Regions from separate parts of the Homo sapiens genome. Here all the other regions are linked to region 2. Evidence: promoter capture Hi-C in 16 types of primary human blood cells and fetal thymus (Javierre and others, 2016). All regions are on one chromosome and are shown on one strand. Each heading gives the region's core, a stretch centred on a gene start or on the middle of the fragment in contact. The rest is flanking DNA. Distances are from core to core; before and after follow the strand shown.

Region 1 (3,166 bases), core at 199-2,698, 96 kb after region 2:
CTTGCAAAAGTGGTCTACACTCTTAAGTCTCCAATTTCTAACCACTTTAAAACACTGCTGTAAAACAATTCTACTTCCATCTTTCTCGACTCTCAACATTACTTTTGTCAAGGTCATCAAAGTTTTTTTTGTTTGTTTTTTGTTTTTTTTTTTGAGACGGATTCTCACTCTGTTGCCCAGGCTGGAGTGCAGAGGCATGACCTCAGCTCATTGCAACCTCTCTCTCCTGGGTTCAAGCGATTCTCGTGTCTCAGCCTCCCAAGGAGCTGGGACTACAGGCATGTGTCACCACGTCCAGCTAATTTTTTGTATTTTTAGTGGAGATGGGGTTTCACCATGTTGGCCAAACTGGTCTTGAACTCCTGACTTCAGGTGATCTGCCCACTTTGGCCTCCCAAAATGCTAGGATTACAGGCATGAGCCACCACGCCTGGCCAAAGACCATTTTGTTGCCGGATTCAAAGAAAATTTTAAAATGTTTATGTTACTTAACTTCCCTGCTGCACTTGACTTTGCAGAACATCTCCTGGCATCACAAAATTTCCTCCTCAGTTGGCTTTTAAGGCTTGACTCCCAATAAGTGAAGGGTGATTACATAAATGTTGCTACATTATATACTAAAGTATATAATACAACCATTAAAGATATGAACAAAAGCACCAACTGCATTTGTGACCCTTTCCATGGGATAGTCACCTTGAAGTACAACTCCTTGGCCAAAGAATATGAACATTTTGAGGGCTCTTAACCCATATTGCCAAAATGTTTTCCAGAAAAGTTTCACTGTCTCATTATTCCACACCTACTACTCCTAGCCTGTCTCCAGTATCCACATGAGTATTGCAAGAATAAAATGTGAAATGCTTGGCATACAATTAAAGAAAAAAAAAAAGATTTGACTCCCTTGCGATTTTCCTCCTAACTTTCTTGCTCTTCCACTTTTTCCTCTTCAGTTGTCTCTTAAGTACTGGGGTTCTCTGCCAGGCTTGGTGGCTCACACCTGTAATCCCAGCACTTTGGGAGGCCAAGGCAGGTGGATCACTTAAGCCCAGAAGTTCGAGACCAGCCTGACACAGGGAACTCTATCTCTACTAAAAGTACACAGATTAGCTGGTGGCACACGCCTGTAATCCCAGCCACTCAGGAGGCTGAGGCAGGAGAATTGCTTAAACCCAGGAGGCGGAAGCTGCACTGAGCCAAGATCATGCCACTGCACTCCAGCCGGGGTGACAGAGCAAGTCTCAAAAAAAGAAAAAAAAAAGGTTTGGGGTTCTCAGACTTTTGCACAAGCCTCTCTTCTCACACTAATACTTATCCTAGCAGACATTACATAATCTCCATGGCATCAAGTAATGCCTATATGCCAGTGAGCTCCAAAATATATACCAAAAACTAAAATAAATGCTCTGAGCTCTAGATCATTTAAGCCAACTAGGGTCTTATATCTCCACTTGGATATGTGATAAGCATCTTAGATTCAAAACTAAATGAATGTGATCAAAACTAACTGCATAATTTCCTCCCAATACTTCCTTCATAGATTGTATTTTTGCCTTCTCCCAAACCAGAAACCTAAGAATCATTCTTATTTCATCCTTCTCCCTGACCCATACTGTCAGTTGTCAATTACTACAGTTTCTACCTTCTAAATTTATACCTGTTGTAACTCTCCGGCACTACCTTTATTCAGGTTCTTGTAACTGACCAGTTGGATCATTGTCAGTCTTCACTGTCTCCATTCTTGCTCCACTCAATACATTAATTAGATTTCTAATAGAATTATTTTCCTAAAATACAAATGTGATTATGCCACTCATATGCTATATCTTTCAATAACTCTCCACTGCTTTGAACATAAAATTCAAACCTCTTAACCTCATACACCAGTTTTTAATCCAGCCTCTCCCATTAATTGTAGTCTTATTACTGTCCAACTCATACCCAGTACCTCGGCCACACTCAACCATTTTTCCCTAACAAGGCATTCACTCCCTTTGCATATATGTTTCCCTCCAACTGACAAAAACTATTACCTTTCCTTGGTTACCTGAAAAATTCCTATTTATCCTTTCAGATATCTCATATACTATCACCTATTCTCTCCACCAGAGGTTGTGTCTTACAATTCCACCTTCCAATTTGGGTTAGATTTTTTTCCAATTTTTTGTATTCTTCTTATAATCAATTATAACAAATATAATTTTAAAATTACTGTCTCTGATATTGAACTAGGAATTCAATGAGGACAGAAATCATGTCTTATAAATCTTTCTTTCTGAGGGCCTATCACCAATGCCTTGTGATCAAGATAGAGATACATAGTTTAAATGAATGAAGAGCAAGTAGTTCAACACAGACATATTAAGAATATAGATGCATTATAAGGACATACAAGGAAATGGCCAAATCATCAAAAGCCTTGTATGTCAGATCAGGATTTTGAAAGTCATCAGAAGATTTTAATAGGAAATGATATAATTAAATGAACACATTTAAAAGCTCATCTTCTTGGTGAATAGACCATGGAAAGATAAAACTGGAGAAACCAAGAGGTTTTGAAATGGGATGAATAAACAATTATGAAAGCCAAGACAATGACTGTGAGGATAAAGAGTAGGAGGAAAATATAAAAGATACTTTGAGAGTGGATAGAACTAAATGGCCAATTTGATATTTGTTAATGAGGCATTGAAAACCAAAGTCATCTCCAAGACTTCTCCCTGAGTGACTAGGAAGATGAATTATTCATTTGTAAATCATTAAACCACATTAAGCATATGCTCTGAACCGGAAATATGCCAGATGCCAAGACCACGAGATAAACAAATAAAACACAGTCTCTGCCCTCCAAAATATAAAGGTGTAGTGGAAGAAATAAACATATGAACATGTAAAAGAATGTAATAAATGTTATTTAAAATCTATAGGCAACATCCTGTGGGAAAACAAAAATTAGCACTTAACTCTGTTTGGGAATTAGTAGTACATAAATGTACTCTTAGTGGAATCATCTCCAAAAACTGTGAGGTACAGTCAACTGAAATAGGAAATTCAGGAAGTGGAGCAGATTTTGAGGACAGAAGGGATACTATTTTCCATTTGAACCAGTTGAGACTGAGTGGTCTGTGGGTAATGCAGGTGACATTCGTCACAGAGTCAGGATCCA
Region 2 (3,549 bases), core at 391-2,890:
TTCCCATTGATTTATAGAAAAATTCAATCTGTTAAGGGTGCTATAAATGATGCCATACAAGGCTCCTACCCTTTACTCTCATCCTCAATCACTCCCGTATTTTCACTCTAGGTCCCAACTTTACAAAAATGATGTGTTGTTTCCAGAATGTGCACACTCCCTGCCCAATGACTGAAATATGGCTGCCCTCCATCACTGTGGGTTGCCTGTTACTCCCCCACCACAATTACCTTCTCCAGAATGCCTTGTCTCATCCTGTCAACCCAGCTTATGTGCCTTCTCTATAGCCTCTTAGAGTCTATACTTTCTTTCATTGTAACCTGCTCGGTTTATTACTAACAGGTTTACCAGTATCATTAGAATCTCAGTCACTTAAAGGTAAATAATGGTATCTGGAAGCAGTAGAATATATTAATTAAGAGAAGCAGATTTGGAACAAAATAAACTTGGATTTGACTCCCGAAACATCCACTTACTTAATAATTGTTTATGTGCAGAGGGGGCCAGGTAGGTTCATGTCTCTGAACTCTAGCCTCTGTATCTATAAAATATACCCGATCATACCTTCTTCTGAGTGTTTTTTTTTTTTTAGGATTAAAATGAAATAGTACATAGTAAGACCTTGACATAGTACTTGAAGCATGTTAAAATGATATTGTCTTATCCCATTTTGCCCAACATGTAGCCACCTAGCTACTACATCGTAAGTATTTAGAAAGTACATACATTTGTTACCAGTGCCCCATGATAGCAGTGCCTGATGAAGTCATAATGCAATGGAGAGCAAATAGAACAAGTGGAGTCTTCTGAATCCTAATGCACTTTACTGATTCTAGAAAGAATAAATGAGAGGCTATGCAAAATCTCAAGCTCAGCTAAGGAATATATTTTGTTGAAGGTTTGTGCTTCCATTTTATGGTGATTGGAAAGGGACTGAGCTAGAAAGAAACTGAGCTAGAAAGGAGCTCAGTTCCTCTCCAATCATCACAAAAATTTACATTCCATAGTATGCAACATCTTGTCAGGAAAAACAAATATAATCCTTCACATGCAATCTTTGCTCACAATTATGAGATACTGTCTTTATGGGTCTAAATCAGAAATACTGTCTTCTTACAGACTCTTGATGTGATCTGTGCTCATCCTTAATCCTTGGTAAAGTTCCAAAATGGCTCTGGATCCTACTGACATCTGTTACTAAGGATAATGCATGAAGGAGATGAAGATATCTGTTCTCAATAAACAGAGAAAACATTACTAAAGAAAATGTAGATCAATTTCAGATCTCCTTATCCATAGATAAGGAAATGCAAGTTATTAGAGACCTATGAAAAATTGCTGTTCAGACATAAAGATGCATCTTTTTATTTCAGATCTTTACCACTTAAGTTTAGCCTAGTATTTTTTAAGGCCAATGAAACAGTTGGTGAAAAAGAATAAATGCATTTGTGATCTCCAGTGTGTTCTCTCCATTCTAGCAAAAAAAAAAAAATTCCAAAAACACTTGTTCATACAGCTACAAGTTTGAGGCTTTTCATAGGAAATAAGATTTGAGGTCTAGACTAATTGATTTTATAGCTTCACAACTGAATTTTGTAATGTAGCCACAGGTCCATACACAGCAGAAGCTTAGATTAATCCTTTCCAAAAATAAAAGGAAAAAATCCATGTGAATCACTTCTAAATGCCTCTGTATTGCAAATGAATGATGTTTGGGTGTGCATTTATACTACTTGTCTAAGATAAGACCTATTTAACAAGATATAGTTTATACCTCATTAAAGCAACATCTACTTCTCTTGCTTGGTTACTGGTCTTTCACAGCCAGTCCAATTGGCCAATATAAAATACACTTCCATTCTGAAACCTAAGTTCCACAAGAGAAAGAACATTTTTCTTTTTAAGTAGATGTATTTCATTATCTTTAAGAGTTTATATTATATACATGACATTACCCCCATTTAATTTTTGTGCTGGTCAGGGATTATTCAGTGATGAAAAAAGTTTTCCCAAATGAGGGCAAATAAAAACATTTTTGCTGGAAGACTATAAAGGACAACTTCATAGACATTCAAAAGTGAAAAATAAAATACACCCAGACCTCTTATAAATATATTGGGAACTGGAAAATCAGAAACTGAGATCATCTCTCTTAATTCACATGATTTCTCATCTCCTTCTCACTAGTACACTTTACCTCCTGATTTCTGGTCCAATCCATTGAACCCATTTTTTTCACTCAATGTGAGTAAATGTCATATAAAAGGTTGCAGGAAGATGCTGCTTCAGGCCATTTTCTCTAAAAGAGACTTGTAAGTACAGAGGTCATTGAAGTTTCATGAACTTCTTTATCCTTTTTGATCAAGTAGCAGATTACCTCTAACTAGTCCACAGCTTCCACATGGAAGATGGACAAACATATAGAAATGGGGAAGAAAGAAGAACCAACACACTTGTCAGCAAATTCAACCTAAGTCAGCCTCTTTTCAATGGGCTCATGGGAAATGAAGCATTTCCTGGGACACAGAGGAGGGAGAGAAAAATCTCCCATTATTGGGGATTGAACCATAAGAAAATGTTGTTTCATGGCCCCAAATGGCCAAATACCAACATATTATGTGATCCAACTAAATCACAATGGTATAATCAAACAAGTTATTCTGATTATTACCAATAGAGACACTAAAATTTTGGCTGTGTATTAAACCCTCTTGCTTTTCACATCTTCTCAATGTATTTATTTTATAGCACATCTGGAACAATCCTTTTATTTATTAATGAAGATCGTCTCAATTGCCAAAGTCTATATTTTTCTTCCACTTAATGAAAAATATCCAAAGTTGCTGGTTATGGGCCCATCAGAGATTATTTTCTCTTAATCATATTTCATTTAAAAAAAACTAGTCAGTTCATTTTTCTAAAAAAAAAATGCATGTTCAGAAAAAAATACAATCACTGAAAGCCCAAATTTCCAGTACAATTTAATAACAAAAAAGGACGGAGTGGAGTAGGATAGTCACATGGTTCCTGTTATCCACCCCCAAGCTTAAGAAACAGGGAGGTCTAAAATGTAGTGTGGAAGAGTAAAAACAGCATGACCTGCTTTCAGTTCCAAGTTCTTCCTTCTACTGATTGTGCAGTCTTGGGCATGCTGATGAATCAAATCAACCTCTCTGGCTGCACATGGAAATTGAGGAATGAAAATACTTCTGAGGTAGGGTTGATGTGAGCATTGGTTGAGACAATGCCTTCATTTGTTGAGTTTCTGTTATGTGCCAGCACTTTACTACAACAGAGATGCAATAGTGAAGGAAAAGAGAAACACAAGCCCTTTAAGACTTCTTGGCATTTCTGATCTGACAGGTGGACACAGACAATAATCAAAGGATTATATGAATAAATCCCAATTATGGTAAATTCTCTGAAAGAGAATAGTGTCCTGAGAATGAGGGGTGGGAGGGAGAGGGGCAAGTAAACAGAACAGATTGTATGGCCAGAAAGCATATGATTGGACCAAGGAGAACACAAAAGACCTGTGTAGCTAAATGA
Region 3 (3,394 bases), core at 251-2,750, 120 kb after region 2:
TGCCCACCTACATGGAGAAGGCCAAATTACTTTACTCAATCAACCAATTCCAATGTGAATTTTACCCAGGAACATCATCACAAGCTACCTAGAAATAATGTTTCATAACATATCTGGGCCTCTGTGGCACTGTCAAACTGACACATCAAATTAACCATCACAGTGGCAATGCAATATTTTTAAATGAACAAAGAAGGCAGTAAATTATAATCATTAGAAATTTTAGTCCTTCCTGATATAGTTCTTGTTATTTAACTTAAAACAAGCCAGGATCATAAGAGGCAGCATAAACACACTAAGTTAACAGGTGTTGAAGAATCAAAGATTCATAAGGTGATGCAAAATGAAACTGCTATCTGAGTAGGATATATAAAAGATAAAGAATAATTCTTTATTCTTCGTGTGGAGCTCAGGCTTAGATCATTTTTAGTTATGATTCTTTTCTATTATAGTTAAGCTATTTTGTTTATTATCAATAAAGCAGTTTTTTGTGTGTGTGTCTGTGTGTGTATACAGTACTATATTACATGAGAACTTTTCACACAATAAACTTTAGTTTAAAATATATTGGCCAGGTGCTATGGCTCACAGCTATAATCCCAGCACTTTGGGAGGCCAACGTGGGAGAATCACTTAAGCCTATAGTTTGAAATCAGCCTAGGCAACAAAGTGAAGGTCCTATCTCTACAAAAAATCAAAACGTTAGCCAGACATAGTGGCACATGCTTATAGTCTCAGCTACTAGGGAGGCTAAGGCAGGACAATCACTTGAGCCCAGTAGGTTGAGGCTACAGTGAGCTGTGATTGTACCACTGCACTTAAGCCTGGGTGACAGAGAAAGATCCTGTCTCAAAATAAAATAAAATAAATTATAAAATTAAAAGCAACTATACATTAGAGCAAGGGACTAGGAGCAGGGTAGCACTTGACAGCCTGGGCTTGTCCTAGTGACCCTGCTTCCCACTCTCCCCAGACGAAGGCTCTGACCATTCCTTTCCTCCAAGAAAAAACTCCTGGCTCCTGAGCATGGCTACAGGACCTTGGGATTTGTTTTTAACTGTAAACCTCACGTTTTGGTCCTTGCAGCTTGCTAAAGACACCCCAGGGATAGGACAAAGCATCCAAGCGATAGAGCGCCAAGGCCAGGCCTTCATATCTAGGCCTATTTTTCAGAGAAAATAAAGTGGGAGCCTGTCTAGACCATCTTTATCTTTTAATTGGGATCTCAGATATATTTTTCCAAGCTTAATGTTATTTACCTGAACATTTGTGTACAAATGGCCTTTAATATATATCCAGATAGATGACCTATCCAGATATGGCCTTTTATATATCCAGATAGATAGATAGATATAAAATAAGCATCCTGTTATAAAACTGCCAACACAATGTGGCATCACCACAGCCTAGTATGACATTCCAGGGATGAGCAGCTTGTGTGAGGCAGTGCCTATCCAGTTAGCCACCCTGCTGAGGATGTACCTCAATTAGAACTTTTGTGTGTGTGACATTGCCTTCTAAAGACATTCTAGCAGTGTGGTGTTGGTGTATGGTGTGGGAAACACCAAAGACCTTTCCTACCAGAATAATTTGTAACCCTCCATGTGAGCACACAGTGTATTCACCATTTTTGTATTGCTCTAAAGAAATACCTGGGACTGAGTAATTCAGAAAAAAAAAAGAGGTTTAATTGGCTTATGGTTCTGCAGACTGTACAGAAAGCATAGCACCAGCACGTGCTTCTGGGGAGGCCTCAGGAAGCTTCCAATCATGACAGAAGGCAAATGGGGAGCAGGCACATCCCATGGTAGAGCACGAGAGAGAGACAGAGCTGTCAGGGGAGGTGCCACACATTTTTAAATGACCAGATCTCATGTGAACTCAGAGCGAGAGCTCACTTATCACCAAGGGGATGTCCCATCCCATTCATGAGGGATCCACCCCCATGATCCAAGCACCTCCAAATAGGCCCCACCTCCAACAATAGGGATTACAATTCAACATAAGATTTGGGCAGGGAAAAATATCCAAACTATATCACAAACCTAGGAGGCTCTCCCATTATCACGTTGGGAACCTGCATTTAAATTAGAAGATGAGAAGAAACATCTGGGGTTTGTACCCAATTCCCTTACACTGGCATTGAGAGAAAGCTAGTAATACATCTATTATCTTGTCACTACCCAAGAGATGGTACTCAGAAAACTGAACACTTGGGCACCAAACTTTGAGGAAATGATCACTTCATGTAAATGAGGTTATCCCAACAGAAAGATAATTTACATCTCCGAACATCAAACGGCTCTTTGGGGTTCCAGTTATATTCCCGCTGTGTAATATATGCTAATTCCTAGAGTGGAGGACCCATACTGGCAACAGCGGTGACCTGAGCCCTGGGGCCTGATGATCCGGCACCGTGGATATTTGCTTGCTCTGCTTTGAGGAAGAAGGTATCTGTGGTAGAACAAGATTCTGATTTATATCAAGCTATATTCCTAAGATCTCTCTCATTACTTATCCTTGGTCTCCTTTGGATCATCAGGTCCTCAACAAGAGGTGAAATTATTTGTAAAGAGACATTAAAGAGCTTATGTTACTTTTAAGTCACGTATGGTTCGTTTCTCACCCGGTTTAACCACTATGGGCAGTTCCATTTTACTGGCAACAGGGAAGTTTACTACCATAGAAAATTAGAGTTAGCAAAAGTATTCCTCCCACAGTTCTGTTTGCTGATTTTCTCAGAAACTGCCCTCTTACTGCCTACAGAATATAAAATCAGAAGGAACACCGTGGTTATTACCATGTAAATTCTTAAGACAGAGCCAGGCTCATTAATTTCCAGGAACACAACTAAAGCTACTGCGGTTGAAATATAGTAAAAATGAAAAATGCACAAATGAAGTCTGAAGGGTAAAGTGGGACCCAGATGCTGTAAAACTGCAGATCAGGTTGGAGTTTACTTTTATCCTCAGTGCTATGGCAAGCTATGGCAGAATTTCAGGTAAGAATGTGGCATCAGAGTTAGGTTTTTAAAAGACCACCCTGGCTATGTATGCATTATGGGAGGAAAAGGGAAGGAAGCACGACAATTGTCTAAGCAAAAGAGGATGGTGGTTTGGACTAGGGTAGTAGCAGTAGAGATGGACAGATGTAGGTGGAATCAGGCCATGGTTTAGAGGTAGAGTCTATACAATTCTTAATGAACTGGATATGTGGAGTGACAGAAAGTAAGAAATAACAGGTGCCCGAACGATAAAGTAGAAGGTGGCAGCAACTACTGAGATGATCAAGATCAGGGAGAAATAAATTTGACCATATAAATCAAGAGTTCTACCAGCTGCCACCCTGAAAATCAATTTCTGTTATTCTTCAAGTAGGGGCATTCATAAGTCAA
Region 4 (3,244 bases), core at 211-2,710, 79 kb after region 2:
CATTTCAGTAAAATTTTAGGAAGATAAAGGTCTGTGGAAACAAAATTATTCAAAATGTCCAATTACCTCAGTTACACTATAAGGTTCTTAAACTAACCTGGGTTTTTATCTAACAAAACTCTGGTTTATACTAAGTATGTTTTAAAATTTTACTTAGAAGAGAATCAGTACATAATCCATATTCTTTAATATGGCCAGCTATGATAGGTTTCCCAGAATAGAGCCCTTAAATTCTATAATTTTTATTTTTGCATAGATTTTTAAAATTCATTTTTAAACAAATTATTATTTTTGTGTCCTATGTTTTTCTCTAAATACCTACTAAAGTAAATGCAATTTGCTATACTTGAATTTTTAATTACATAAAAAGAAGGTATTTTGATTACTTAATTTCAAAATTCAATCTCTGATTATCTACCTTCTACTATAGAAAGGCTTTAATACACACTCCCAAATACGGAAGAAAAAGTGATGCATTCCACGCTGGAATCTGTTTTACCTACCTAGAAAGTCTTTTGCTAAAGTACAATATTAAATAAGAATTTTCAAATCTTACTAAAAATTTTCCTTCCTAAAATAATATTTCTACTGTATTTTAGGAAGCGTTTTATATTTCAGCCCATAAAATTGTCAGTTTATGACATGATACAATTTAGGCTGAACAGTTAAAAGATTCTGAGAAGGAAACTTGAATTGCTCAGAGAAAGTGTAAAATCCCATGTGTTACTAAAATCAAGGGACTGTCATGATAAAAATTTTCTGAATGCCTTGCAAGTTGGATACTTCATTTAAAAACTCCCCACCCACAATGTTCTCTGAAGCATATCTTAAAGCCCCAACCAACCCTTCCATTCCTTAGCATAGAATACATGTTGGTTTCTTTTTTGCAACATGTGCTTTCTTTAAAGTCAAATATATGACACTGAATCTTGAAACATTACAGGAAAGCGATTTAGATTCTTCTGGTTACTGCAACATAGCAAAAAAAAAAAAAAAAAAATTAAAAATCCCCTGTCTCTACTGCTCATGTTCCCTCTTAAATAACAACTCTTTAAATAGAGATCCCTGTTAATATTTTATGAAATAATGAATTGTCTTTTCCATTCATATTTCTTTATATTTCACATCGTGTCTTATTTTTTCTCTGCTCCCAGATTTCTGATAATTCTAGAATCCGTGAGATGAGTCCAAGCAATACATTCAGTAACTAATCTAAGCATTTGCAGCCACTGAATGTATCACCTGGACTTATCTTTTGAGCGTATTTTAAATTGGGTAGAGAAGACTCTAAATAAAAGTCTTTCTCTTTCTAATATAATGCATTTGTAAAGAAGCATATTAGATCTGTTAAATAAATAAATATTTACTAATTAAGTTTGCTGTCAATGTTATAAGCAAATTACTTTACAAATGGCTGATCTGGAATTTCAGGAGCTCAATTGCTGAAGTAACTTATTTATTCAAATATTCTTAAACTGTTGTTGTATTACCACAGTGCAGTTCTATCCATGAAACTGAACAAGAAAATCAAATTCACCTGAATGCCTAAGAGAGCTCCTCATAAATCCGTAGTTCAGTTTTGATTTGTAGGAGAAAAAAGAAAAATAATGCAGATTGTTCCAACTATTCTCTACTCCCTAAATCTCAAGATTTCAAATTTTCACTAATATCAAATGCCACCTCACCACCACCAAACAGAATCTGTTTATTGAAGGAACAAGGCCAATTGGGTGGGTTTCAAAGAGATCATGTTCCAACAATTAGTTTCATTTTCAAAGTTTAACTCTTTCCTGAATACTGTTTAACTGGGAAAATGAACTGAAAGCCCATTGAAGATTTTATACCTTTCTACTTCCTGGCCATGAAATGTGGCCTTGGAGTCTTAGAGGTAGATAGTTATATTTTAGAGAACCTTGAAGCTGGTTTGTTGTAGTAAGAGAATTTACATATTTCTAGATGTTTAATTTTTGTCTACAACAAAAATTAAAGTTTAAAAATGTAACTAATAGGAATGAACATTGCTTTGACTATTGAATTAAAGAGTAAAGAAAAATGGGTATTATATCATTAAAATAGAACAGAATCAAATGGTTCATTTTAGCACTTCAGAAAGGTTGTATCATCAGTGTGTTTTTGGGCCATTTTTTCCATTTATTATAAACTCATGATTGCTAACGGAATTCAATAAAGTACTTAAATTGCACAATAAAATATTCCCATGCCACTGAAACTCCTTAGCTATTAATTCAATAATTTTTTGTAACTTTTGTGAAACATTTTACCTAATATTTTATGTATGTAAGTGTAAGCTAAAAGTTTCTTCACTGTTTTCACATGATCAATGGCTTATTTGACAGGCATTTTCTCTTTAAAAAAAAAAAAAGAAAAGAAAAAAAGATATTTCCCCTAGGCTGGTGCAGTGGCTCAAACCTGTAATCCCAGCACTTTGGGAGACCAAGGCGGGTGGATCGCTGAGCCCAAGAGTTCAAGACCAGCCTGGTCAACATACGCAGACCTTGTCTCTACAGATAATTTAAAAATTAGTCAGGCGTGGTGGTGCACATCTGTAGTCCCAGCTACTTGGGAGGATGAGGTGGGAGAATCACTTGAGCCTGCAGTGAGACATGACCATGCCACTGCACTCCAGCCTGGGTGACAGAGTGAGACCCTGTCTCAAAAAAAAAAAAAAAAAAATATATATATATATATATATACAGTAAACTTGCAAACACAAATGGCCTCCTTGATTCTAGTTACTTTGCACACTTTGTAAAAATTTAAAGTAATAACGAGCACAGCTTCTCACACTCCCTGCTCTATAACTCTTTCCTCATTACCCATCTCTAAATTCTTCTAACTGTGGTACAGTTCATTGAAAAACAAAGCACTGAGTGAGCTAACATTGAAATTGTAAGAATAGTGGCTATTACTGCATAACAACAAGCAGAAGAGCAACATCTATTCTTTCTTGCTGCTGGAAACCATAGAAGGGCTTAGTACAATCACTCACTATGATTAACTCTCTACATTTTAACCACATAATTCTCAACATGAGGAAGAAGCTAACCTGTTGACTTGCCTAGAGACAAAGAATAAGAGAAACCAGAATTCAAAACTGCAGTTGATAGCAGACCATGGCGAAGACAGACCAGAAAATGTCAGGCCTGGGAGTCAGGCCTGTGCAGAAGTCCCCTGTGCAGGCCTGGGAGTCAGGATGTGCAGAAGAAACATGTGGGGCAGTTCA

What was found. Contacts are between HindIII fragments. The CHiCAGO score rates a contact against its expected background, and 5 or more counts as called.
Region 1: a fragment that was not itself captured here is called in contact with the fragment with the promoter of LINC00158 in region 2 in 1 of 17 cell types (activated CD4 T cells); the score reaches 6.4 in activated CD4 T cells.
Region 3: a contact is called between a fragment that was not itself captured here and the fragment with the promoter of LINC00158 in region 2, in 2 of 17 cell types (activated CD4 T cells and M1 macrophages). The highest score is 11.7, in activated CD4 T cells.
Region 4: a contact is called between a fragment that was not itself captured here and the fragment with the promoter of LINC00158 in region 2, in 1 of 17 cell types (activated CD4 T cells). The highest score is 5.6, in activated CD4 T cells.

Annotation. Positions count from the first base shown.
Region 1 is chr21:25,525,947-25,529,112 of GRCh38, forward strand. No RefSeq gene overlaps it. Among named protein-coding and RNA genes, the nearest start is that of MIR155HG, 35 kb to the right of the region's middle. The HindIII fragment of the contact is 4,628 bases long and covers 1-3,166 here.
Region 2 is chr21:25,430,061-25,433,609 of GRCh38, forward strand. LINC00158 (long intergenic non-protein coding RNA 158) reads right to left here and starts at 1,641. Exons shown (of 5, transcript NR_024027.2): 1 at 1,118-1,641. The HindIII fragment of the contact is 1,417 bases long and covers 1,627-3,043 here.
Region 3 is chr21:25,548,140-25,551,533 of GRCh38, forward strand. No RefSeq gene overlaps it. Among named protein-coding and RNA genes, the nearest start is that of MIR155HG, 12 kb to the right of the region's middle. The HindIII fragment of the contact is 517 bases long and covers 1,243-1,759 here.
Region 4 is chr21:25,509,266-25,512,509 of GRCh38, forward strand. It overlaps LOC105372753 (a long non-coding RNA gene), which reads right to left. Exons shown (of 10, transcript NR_188560.1): 4 at 3,068-3,244. Among named protein-coding and RNA genes, the nearest start is that of MIR155HG, 51 kb to the right of the region's middle. The HindIII fragment of the contact is 4,446 bases long and covers 1-3,244 here.